4 separate regions of the Homo sapiens genome follow, and all the other regions are linked to region 1. Evidence: promoter capture Hi-C in human tissues and cell types (Jung and others, 2019). All regions are on one chromosome and are shown on one strand. The core of a region is centred on a gene start or on the middle of the fragment in contact, and the rest is flanking DNA. Distances in the headings are between cores, read along the strand shown. Region 1 holds the start of NKAIN2 (sodium/potassium transporting ATPase interacting 2). Region 2 overlaps HEY2 (hes related family bHLH transcription factor with YRPW motif 2). Region 3 has its middle 54 kb from the start of TPD52L1. Region 4 overlaps NKAIN2 (sodium/potassium transporting ATPase interacting 2).

Region 1 (2,618 bases), core at 35-2,534:
CACTTAGAGTGGTGTATTTTTCACCTCTCAACTCTCTACTCAGACCCTCCTTCCATTGCCCTTAGGGAATTGAAATTCAGAGACATGACGTTTTCCATTATTGGTTCCTTGCCCCTTTGCAACTGTACAACATTCCTCAAAAAGTACATAGAATTCTCCATCCTATAGGATCAGACAACAGTATCTATTTCAGGAGCAATAATATGCATAATGTAAGACAGAATAGTTTTTCTTGGAATTGTCTGTGTTAATTGTGATTTAAAGGTTACTGGTTCCGTCTATGACAATGGTGTTGCTGAGTTCACCTAAGTATTTTTGTTCAATCTGCATACTTTAAAAACTCAATGTGGCTAAAACTCAAACAGTCTAAATTAGACTGTTGTAAGGATACCATGTGCCCTAAACAGTGGTTTTTTTAGAGCATTATACTTAAAGACAACATTTTCCTTAAAAAAAGAAAAAAAACATGTCTATGAAGAAACAAAGATACTGCAAAATTAGTATAGAGAAGAAAAGTCCAAAATTCCGTATTCCTCTGTTTAACAACCTGTACGGTAAATTGTAGGTGACAATCACGTTGTTACATGAATAGGAATGCAAAGCATAAAGAACAAGAGCTACATCTTGCTTTTCCTAAAGAAATTAAAGACAAGTTTAACCCGCACCTGCCAAACTGTCTTAAAAGGGACAGAAATAGGTGGGAACGGAAAGGCTCACCTCTCCTGTACCCCAGAGTGCGTCTCCCTGAAATCATCTTCAATATAGGCAATATATCTGTCACCTTCTCTTTTATCTTTTTCGTCCATTCTAGTCAATGGCAGACCCTTTGCTGCACTCCCCTGCCCACTATCTCAAAGACACATTACAGAATAAGGGGACCCAAGTGTCACTTACCAGTTGCATGCCACAGATAAAGATAAGCGTGCACCTGCCACTGCAATAACCCATGGTTTCCGAGACCCCTGCCACAGCCAGACTGTCCCACGTCGGCCACCGTCGAGCCCCCACTTTATCCAATCAGATCGCGGGGAAGGACACGCAAACCTGCCGAGGGCTCGGGGGCTCCGGGCTGCTGCTGCTGCCAGCGTCCTGGGAAGTGACAGGCATTAGGACCTGCTGGCGCGGCGGCGGCGGCGGCGGCAGCTCCAGCCGCGCCCGCCACACATACCTTCACTCGCTCGGTGCACACGCCGCGCCGCGGGCAGTGCCGCCTGCGGAGGCGCGCTCGGGGCCCGCAGGGGCAGCAGCGGCAGCCTGGCAGCGCCGCCGCGCCCTCGGGCATCTGGCCCGCGAAGTTTCGCCCCTGCCGCTCTCCGCGCCGCTCGCCTCACGCCCCCCAGCGCGGCCGCCGCCCGACGCGCGCTCGCCCTGCGCTCGCCGCGCGCCGGCTCCGGGGGCGGCAGAAGCGCGCGAGGGCCGCTGCCCGCCTCCCTGCGCAGCCCGCGGCTCCTAGGCACCCTGCGTTGCTGGGCCCGGCGGGCGGGGGTGGGGCGGGGAGCGGGGCGCGGGCCGAGCGGGGGCGTCCCGGCTCCGCGGTCCCCGGCGGCTGCTGCAGCGGCTGCTGCGCGCAATGATGCGGGTCCGCGCCGCGTCCCAGCAGCGGCGCTGCCCCTCCCTTCGCCCAGATGTGTGAATCCTCCTCCTACAACAAATCCTTCATCCTGCTCCCTGCCGCCCCCTCCCAGGGGGCCAACTTTGAGGACCGCAGGGGCTGCCGCCCAGGCGGCCGCAGGCGGCGGTGTCTAGGCGGAAAGGAGCGGCGCGAAAGCGGCGGCGGCGGGGACCGGGGCCTCGGGGCGAGGAGTCTGGGCGGCATGACCGCGGTTTGCTGAGCTGAAGTCGGTCGTGCTCCCAGAGCCACTCCGCGGGAGCGAACCGAGTGTGTGTGTGCGCGCGCGCTCGGGGGAGAAGGGACCAAGAGGAGGGTTAGGGAAGGAAGCTGGGGTCATGGAACAGGGGTGCAACCGAGGCATCCAGAGCGGCCGGAAAGCCCGAGTGGCGGAGAGGCCAGAGGTGGCGAGAAGGGGCGCGGCGGCACCGGACGCACCGCCCAGCACCTGGCTCCCCTGGGCTCCCGAGGATCTGAAGGGTCGGAGCGCGGAGAGCTACGGAGCCGACCCTGCTTGGGGAAGGGGACCGAGTTGCTGCTGGAGTTGGGAAAAATTAGCAACCGGAGGGAATAGGGATGCAATGAGTTGCTGTTGCTGCTTCAAACTGTTGTTTGTTTTCACTTAAAATACTAAAGAGTCGGAGACTAGTTTAATACTCAGTTACTTCAGCTTCACAGCAGTCCCAGCTGGGTGTGGATTCCTAGTGGAGATGCACCAGCCTCCGCTGAGCACCGGCCTGAAAGCTGTGAAGCGGCTGCTACCTGCAGAGACAGGCTTCGGAGCCCGCTGCTGCCACCTGCGGGCGGAAAGCTGAAGGGCGCAACATGCTGGCCCAAGTGGCTGCCCCTGGGGCGTGGATATTTAGGACCAAGTTTCCTTTTTAGCCCTGGCAGCTAAGGAAAGCAATCCTAACTTTTCCAGGAAGTGAAGATTATTTGTTGAGATCCACTGAGGAACTGACTCATTGGGGTGAAGTGTCGCGATTGATAAGAGGATGGTTTAGGGAGC
Region 2 (2,618 bases), core at 52-2,551, 2.0 Mb before region 1:
AGGTATTCATGGAAAGATTTCACATTTTGGTCCTCAGGGTTCTGTAGGGCTTTGCAGACTTCTGACTCCCATGAGAGAAAGACGGGGGTAATGAATAGAATAGACAGAGTCCAGAAATCCAGAGGGATTTCGAAACTTAGGTTATTCTACTAAATCCTCTCTAGATACTATTGTCATACCAAGACAGACTATAAAGAATGAACTAACAGAATTGGAGCCCCAAGAGCTTCTAAGAATTTTCATTACTGGTCATGAAGTAATTGAAATTTGTGGTTTGCCTGCTATGTTGTCATATATGGCTGAGCTCTCTGTTATATCTTAAAGGAATATAAATTATGCAATTCCTATCCTATTGTGGACTTCAGAGGGAAATGATGATAAGTAGCTCCCTTTTGTGAATGGATCTTGGGCCAACAGTAACATACATGTCCATACCACTCCCTCTACACCAGCACTATTCTATCGGCCTTAAGTGAATTAACTTGTAACAGCCTTATGAGTTATATAGTATGGACACTACAACTGTCCTCTTTTTACAGATGATAAAACTGGACCAGCTCGCAGGGGGTAATTTGCCCAAAGTCACAGAGCTAATCAGTGGCAGAACCAGGATTTGAAATCAGGCAATCCAGCTACAGATACGATGCCCTTCACCACTGCACTATGAGGCAGTTGGTATTCTTTTACAATGTTAACCCAAACAGCCAGCTCCCTTCTTTTTATTTTTTCTATTTTTTTTGAGATGGAGTTTCACTCTTATTGCCCAGGCTGGAGTGCAATGGCGCGATCTCGGCTCACCACAACCTCTGCCTCCCGGGTTCAAGCAATTCTCCTGCCTCAGCCTCCTGAGTAGCTGGGATTACAGGCATGCACCACCATGCCCAGCTAATTTTGTATTTTTAGTAGAAACGGGATTTCTCCATGTTGGTCAGGCTGGTCTGAAACTCTGGACCTCAGGTGATCCGCCCACCTCGGCCTCCCAAAGTGCTGGGATTACAGGCATGAGCCACCACACCCAGCCGCCAGCTCCCTTCTTGAAGGCCATTCTCCAGTGCAATGACCTCTTCAATGGCCTGACAGTCAGGTGACGTGTATGGAGCCTACTTGGAAATATCTGTTCACAAACTATTCTGGGACAAATTTTAGGACTGTCTAGGTGGCCAAGAATAGCAACCAAGATGGAACTTAGTTTTTATAATAAAGCCTAAGAACAATATTACTCTTTAGAAGTACAGCTCATGCCAAATATTTGAAACCCTAATGAGAAAACTTAGCCTTGTGGCTAACAATGCTAAGGGAAGTAAAGCAATCAAACAAATTTTCTTGTAGCATGACTAATTCAATCAGTATCCTAACATCCTGAGGTAGCAGTTGTAGAGACAGAATCATGGAGCTGCAGGGGCCCTTGGCGCTCATGCTGCTAGTGTAGCCCTCAAAGTGCAGCCCAGACTTTTTTCTTAGGTCAGAGGCACAGCAGTGGTCAAGCTAGGCTGGATCATTGGCTTCTGTGATTTAATCCAGTTATCTTTTCTATTATGTAAGAATGTTTGCATTTCATGCCATCATTCAGGATGGTTCCTTGAGAAGGTACAATCTGGGAAAAGTCAACCCATTGGGGCTTCTCTGTACAATGGTTACCCTCCCTCCCTACTAGACGCAGGAAAAAGATGGTTAAGATCAGGGCTGATGTTCTAGAGATCCTCAATGGTATGGCCATACAGGAGTTAAATATTGGTAACAGTTGCTTCCCTCCAATGTCCTGCCTCTGCCCTGATCTAGGACCCGTATACAGTGTAGTAAAAGGTTAATGCTGAGCACCGGGAGGCCTTCAGGATTTAGTTGGAGCCCTTAAATCCTTCTGATACCTTCTCCTTATTCAGTTGTTAAATATACTGAATAACACCCTTGGCTAAGGTGAATATCAAAGGATTCTTTGAAGGATGAAAAAGATTCAGAGGAACAAAATCAAGTCTGAGTTGTGATGTGTAAGTGGGATAATGAAATCTGAGTGAACTAGGATCTCAAGGCTGTTTTTAGCATGAGATGAGATCCTCTCTCACCACCTCGACAATTACTCCCTAAGTCACTATCCAGTACAGAGGACACCTCTCTAGGGCCCTGGACCTGGAGTGCCTGCTCCTGTTTGCTTTCCCCAAGAATGACTCTGCTCCATTAATGGCTTCTGGTGTAGAGACTTCCTACCTGCACTTCAACTGTTCTGTTTGGTCTAAATTCAAGACCAAGCAAAAATCTGAAAACAATAATGAAAATAACTCTAGAGTCAATTCCTTTGGAATAGCTGAATTATTTTCAGTCTTAGCCTTCATTTAATGAAGACAGAGGAGGAGAAGGAGTAGGAAGAAAGAAGCAGAAGGAGGAGAAAAGGATTACCTCTAACCTCCTGTTTATGTTTGGATGTTTGTGTGTTTGTTTTTTGTTCTTTCTGTACAGATTCCAGCATGCGCTTCTTAAGTCCTAAACAAATCTCTGACCAGGCTGCTGTGAATGAAGCTTTACTCCCACAGTATTATGAAAGCAAACACAAGCCCAGGGTCAAGTGCTTCTTTTGTTCCAAAAGTTCTTTCCCACGAGTTCAATCCTGCCATTAGCATTGATTT
Region 3 (2,618 bases), core at 54-2,553, 1.3 Mb before region 1:
TAAATATAGGTTACATGGACCCACATTTCATTGCTGAAAGAGATCTTAGAGACTACCCTTGCACTCCTTGATTTTAGACCAAAGTCTGGGAAGGTATGTGGCTATGCCAATATCACAGAGCAAATTAATGTAAGAATTCAAGATAGGAATCCATTTGTCCTAAATCTTTGCCTAGTACTCTCCACAAGACCAGGATTGGAGCCCAGCCTTCACCAAGATCCACATACAGGGTATGTCTAATAACACAGGAGGGGCCCTAAACATGCTTACTACTACTACTACTACTAATAAACTGAATAAGTAATGTTGAATAAACTTTCAATGAATTGAATGTCAGAAAGAAAATAACTGGTATTATGCTATGTACTTTCATATACACTGTCTCATTTGATGGGAACAAAAACTTCTATCTGTTGTGTTATTATTCCCCAATTTCCAATTACTCTTTTAGAGTTGCAGATGTCAAAGGACAGTTTGGGTACCCTGCCTCAGAGTCCCTGGTTAACAAGAGAAGGGCTCTGAGAAGCAGTCTAGCTTGATAGCTCAGGGCTCCCAGGCCCAGGTTTAGATCACACCTCTGTCCTTGCAGACTCTGTGATGGGGGAGGTTATTCAGTCTCTGTCAAGGCTAATAAATAATGCAACAACGGTGATTCTAATAGTTTAAAACGGATCAGGATACCCTGATGTAGTGGGAAAAAACTTGCCCTTGGTATTCAAATCAGATTGATGATGCAACTCTGTCCTGACTTCACTTTCCTCATCTCTGAAATGGGAATAATGTTTATCTCATAGGGTTGTGAGGATTTTCCAGGAAAATCGCACACAACCCCGCACGTTTCTACTTGTTAAAGGAACTCAGCCGAAATTCTTGCCAGCTTTCGTCCCGACCCCATCCCCAGGGCTCCTCCTGGTTCCTGGTGGGCCCTCTTTCCTAGTCTATTTTTTTTAACTTTCTCTTCGTTTTGTCTTTCCTTTCTCTCTCCCTTTCATCTCCTTCTCCCCCCGTTACTTTTCTTTTGGGTTACCTTTTTAATGAGATGTAGAAAATGTATCAGCAGGTTTATGAAAAGTGAACTGGCAGATGGAAGATGTCACCATGACACTGAGGAAAACTGTTTTCTAACCCCCACCAAAGTAATTTAATTTACACATTTACTTCCTCAAAAAAAGAAAAAAAAAAGCTTTTATGCTTTCAGCACGCAGGCAATGGAGACAGCCTCGGGTCGTGTTGCCCACACGCAGGTGCTGCTAGCTGCCTCCCAGTCGCTCTCCTCGCGCATCTTCCCAGGGGACATCCGCCCTCCCGGGACTGTGCTCCGGACAGCGGGGGAGGGCAGAGGGAGGGGCAGGGAGGTGACAAGCAGCGCCCCGCAGTGTGCACCGTGCGCTTCACTCCGCGCTCCTCTCCGTGCACCCAGACCCAGAGCAGCCCCGCCCGGCAGCCAGCACAACTGCCCCGCGCCACAGGCCGCCGGCCTCTGCTTGCCAGGGCTGCGGGGGAAGAACATGCCCCCGTGCACTAGCTCCGCGTTCCCGAAGGAAGGTTTTCGCAGCCATGGGCAGTGGGCCTTTAGTCTCCCGCTCCGTGCAGTGGGAAGGGATCAACTGAGCGGCGCGGAGCCATCAGTGGTCTCTGCGTGGAGGCTGCAGCCCCGCCGACGCCCTCGCCTTCGCCCTCGCCCCCGCCCCCGCCCCCGCCCTCTATACTGTGGACAAAGGCAATCCGGATTTGTTTTTGTTTTCGTGGTTTTCTTTGTTGATGATGGGAGCTGGAAACTGGGGAGGAGAGAATTTTGCAGTTGTGAAAGGGCATCTCTCTCTTCCCTTACTTATTATTTTCTTCAAAGATAACAGAATTTCCCCATGGCAGGAACCGCAGACTGGCAAGCAGGAGACCTGAGTTTGAGTTGAGCCTTTGCTATGTGACCTCAAACAAACCATTGAACTGTATTTTTTATTTTTTATTTTTTAGTTTAGCTGGGCTTAGCTTTGTTGTTTTCTTTCCCACATTGTTTATAAAACGAGGATACTAATAACACCACAGAGGGGTTGTAAGGATTACATACACGTGAACAGACTATGTGAACGCATAGTAGGCGCTAGATAAAGATTTGTTTTGAAATTATCCATAACAACACCTCCAATATAAGGAATAAGAGACCTAGGAAGCCCAGAGAGGGCAAGTTAGCATGCCAGTTGGAGGATGAAAACCAAGGCTGGAACTAAGGTTTCCCATTTCCAGCTTCGTGTTCTTCCCATTTCCCACTCTTCCGCTGATTCTAACCTAGTGCACTTACAACTCTGGAGAAGGGAGACCCAGTTGGAATCCCTGGCTTCACCATTCTGAAGTTGAGGCGTCTTGGGCACGTCTCTTATAAAACTTTTTTGTTTTATAGTTTTGTAATTTGTTCCTCAAACGTTTCAATGCCTATGATGTACCTGCCAGTTACCATAGACGGTGGAGGGGACCCAAAAATGAATAGAACATGATCCGTGACCTCATGGAATTCACGTTCTTGCTAGAGGGCCTCATGCATAATATAAGCAAAAATAAATAACCAATCTGTTGGTGATTATATTAATAGAGCATGGTGGAAGGAAGAGTTCTGTTTAATG
Region 4 (2,618 bases), core at 61-2,560, 1.0 Mb before region 1:
TGCCTTTCCATGTTTAGTGTTTCCTTCAGGAGCTCTTTTAGGCAGGCCTGGTGGTGACAAAATCTCTCAGCATTTGCTTGTCTGTAAAGTATTTTATTTCTCCTTCACTTATGAAGCTTAGTTTGGCTGGATATGAAATTCTGGGTTGAAAAATCTTTTCTTTAAGTATGTTGAATATTGGCCCTCACTCTCTTCTGGCTTGTAGAGTTTCTGCCAAGAGATCCGCTGTTAGTCTGATGGGCTTCCCTTTGTGTGTAACCCGATCTTTCTCTCTGGCTGCCCTTAACATTTTTTCCTTCATTTCAACTTTGGTGAATCTGACAATTATATGTCTTGGAGTTGCTCTTCTCGAGGAGTATCTTTGTGGTGTTCTCTGTATTTCCTGAATCTGAACGTTGGCCTGCCTTGCTAGATTGGAGAAGTTCTCCTGGATAATATCCTGCAGAATGTTTTCCAACTTGGTTCCGTTCTCCCCGTCACTTTCAGGTACACCAATCAGACGTAGATTTAGTCTTTTCACATAGTCCCATATTTCTTGGAGGCTTTGTTCGTTTCTTTTTATTCTTTTTTCTCTAAACTTCCCTTCTTGCTTCATTTCATTCATTTCATCTTCCATCGCTGATACCCTTTCTTCCAGTTGATTGCATCAGCTCCTGAGGCTTCTGCATTCTTCACGTAGTTCTCATGCCTTGGCTTTCAGCTCCATCAGCTCCTTTAAGCACTTCTCTGTATTGGTTATTCTAGTTATACATTCGTCTAAATTTTTTTCAATGTTTTTAACTTCTTTGCCTTTGGTTTGAATTTCCTCCTGTAGCTCGTAGTTTGATCATCTGAAGCCTTCTTCTCTCAACTCGTCAAAGTCATTCTCCATCCAGCTTTGTTCCATTGCTGGTGAGGAACTGCGATCCTTTGGAGGAGGAGAGATGCTCTGCTTTTTAGAGTTTCCAGTTTTTCTGCTCTGTTTTTTCCCCATCTTTGTGGTTTTATGTACTTTTGGTCTTTGATGATGGTGATGTACAGATGGGTTTTTGGTGTGGATGTCCTTTCTGTTTGTTAGTTTTCCTTCTAACAGACAGGACCCTCAGCTGCAGGTCTGTTGGAGTTTGCTAGAGGTCCACTCCAGACCCTGTTTGCCTGGGTGTCAGCAGCGGTGTCTGCAGAACAGTGGTTTTTTGTGAACCGCGAATGCCGCTGTCTGATCGTTCCTCTGGAAGTTTTGTCTCAGAGGAGTACCCGGCCGTGTGAGATGTCAGTCTGCCCCTACTGGGGGGTGCCTCCCAGTTAGGCTGCTCAGGGGTCAGGGGTCAGGGACCCACTTGAGGAGGCATTCTGCCCATTCTCAGATCTCCAGCTGCGTGCTGGGAGAACCACTGCTCTCTTCAAAGCTGTCAGACAGGGACATTTAAGTCTGCAGAGGTTACTGCTGTCTTTTTGTCTGTGCCCTGCCCCCAGAGGTGGAGCCTACAGAGGCAGGCAGGCCTCCTTGAGCTGTGGTGGGCTCCACCCAGTTCGAGCTTCCCGGCTGCTTTGTTTACCTAAGCAAGCCTGGGCAATGGCGGGCGCCCTTCCCCCAGCCTCGCTGCCGCCTTGCAGTTTGATCTCAGACTGCTGTGCTAGCAATCAGTGAGACTCCGTGGGCATAGGACCCTCGGAGCCAGGTGCAGCATATAATCTCCTGGTGCGCCATTTTTTAAGCCCGTTAAAAAAGTGCAGTATTCGGGTGGGAGTGATCCGATTTTCCAGGTGCCGTCTGTCACCCCTTTCTTTGACTAGGAAAGGGAACTCCCTGATCCCTTGCGCTTCCCGAGTGAGGCAATGCCTCGCCCTGCTTCGGCTCACGCACAGTGCGCTGCACCCACTGACCTGCGCCCACTGTCTGGCACTCCCTAGTGAGATGAACCTGGTACCTCAGATGGAAATGCAGAAATCACCTGTCTTCTGCGTCGCTCACGCTGGGAGCTGTAGACCGGAGCTGTTCCTGTTCGGCCATCTTGGCTCCTCCCCCAGATCTTTAATATTTTAAGCTTGGTAACACATTCACACGTGCTAAACAATGAAAGTGAAAAGCAATAGCTATAATAGTATCATAATAAATAAAGTATATCGTTAGCTGAAAAATCACTTTAAGCTTTTGGTTCTAAAGGCCTAATAAAAAATGAAATATAAGGTTCACTTGATAAACTATTTTGTATTGTTGTTCTTGTTCATATCTGCTAATTCTCAGTGAGGGCAGTGCCTTAGGTGAGATTTTAAGAAACAAATGATGGTTTTCTGCTGAGACCTGGATCTTGTTATCAGGTAGTCTTTTAATAATATAATGCCAGTACTTGATATATCATAATGCCACTACTTGATACATTGTTGTAGAATCTGTTTGGTAGCATCAAGATGGGGGGCTTTGGAGTCAGAAGACCTGTGCTCAGGTTGTGCCTTTACTTCTTACCATCATTGGACCTATAATCAGGTCACAATTGCTCTGAGCCTTAATTTCTTCCTCTGTAAAGTGAGGATAATCAAGCAATTTCAGCTTCGAAGGGTTATTGAGAGAATCAGGTGTCATATGTGTGTAATACGTAGAGGTATATATATTAAAAATACACTATGAGTAGGATTGGGAT

What was found. The method cuts DNA at HindIII sites, captures the fragments that hold promoters and counts their contacts. A contact is called where the count stands out against the background at its distance.
Region 2: a fragment that was not itself captured here is called in contact with the fragment with the promoter of NKAIN2 in region 1 in 1 of the 25 tissues and cell types used here (hippocampus).
Region 3: a fragment that was not itself captured here is called in contact with the fragment with the promoter of NKAIN2 in region 1 in 1 of the 25 tissues and cell types used here (hippocampus).
Region 4: a fragment that was not itself captured here is called in contact with the fragment with the promoter of NKAIN2 in region 1 in 2 of the 25 tissues and cell types used here (dorsolateral prefrontal cortex and mesenchymal stem cells).

Annotation. Positions count from the first base shown.
Region 1 is chr6:123,802,531-123,805,148 of GRCh38, reverse strand. It overlaps NKAIN2 (sodium/potassium transporting ATPase interacting 2), which reads right to left and starts at 1,284. Exons shown (of 7, transcript NM_001040214.3): 1 at 895-1,284. The coding sequence starts at 948. RefSeq lists an enhancer at 2,479-2,528. The HindIII fragment of the contact is 12,261 bases long and covers 1-2,618 here.
Region 2 is chr6:125,754,689-125,757,306 of GRCh38, reverse strand. All of the region lies in intron 4 of HEY2 (hes related family bHLH transcription factor with YRPW motif 2), which reads right to left. Among named protein-coding and RNA genes, the nearest start is that of HEY2, 6.4 kb to the right of the region's middle. The HindIII fragment of the contact is 7,524 bases long and covers 1-2,618 here.
Region 3 is chr6:125,098,599-125,101,216 of GRCh38, reverse strand. No RefSeq gene overlaps it. Among named protein-coding and RNA genes, the nearest start is that of TPD52L1, 54 kb to the left of the region's middle. The HindIII fragment of the contact is 8,655 bases long and covers 1-2,618 here.
Region 4 is chr6:124,803,890-124,806,507 of GRCh38, reverse strand. The region is part of intron 5 of NKAIN2 (sodium/potassium transporting ATPase interacting 2); the gene reads right to left. Among named protein-coding and RNA genes, the nearest start is that of RNF217, 160 kb to the left of the region's middle. The HindIII fragment of the contact is 4,271 bases long and covers 1-2,618 here.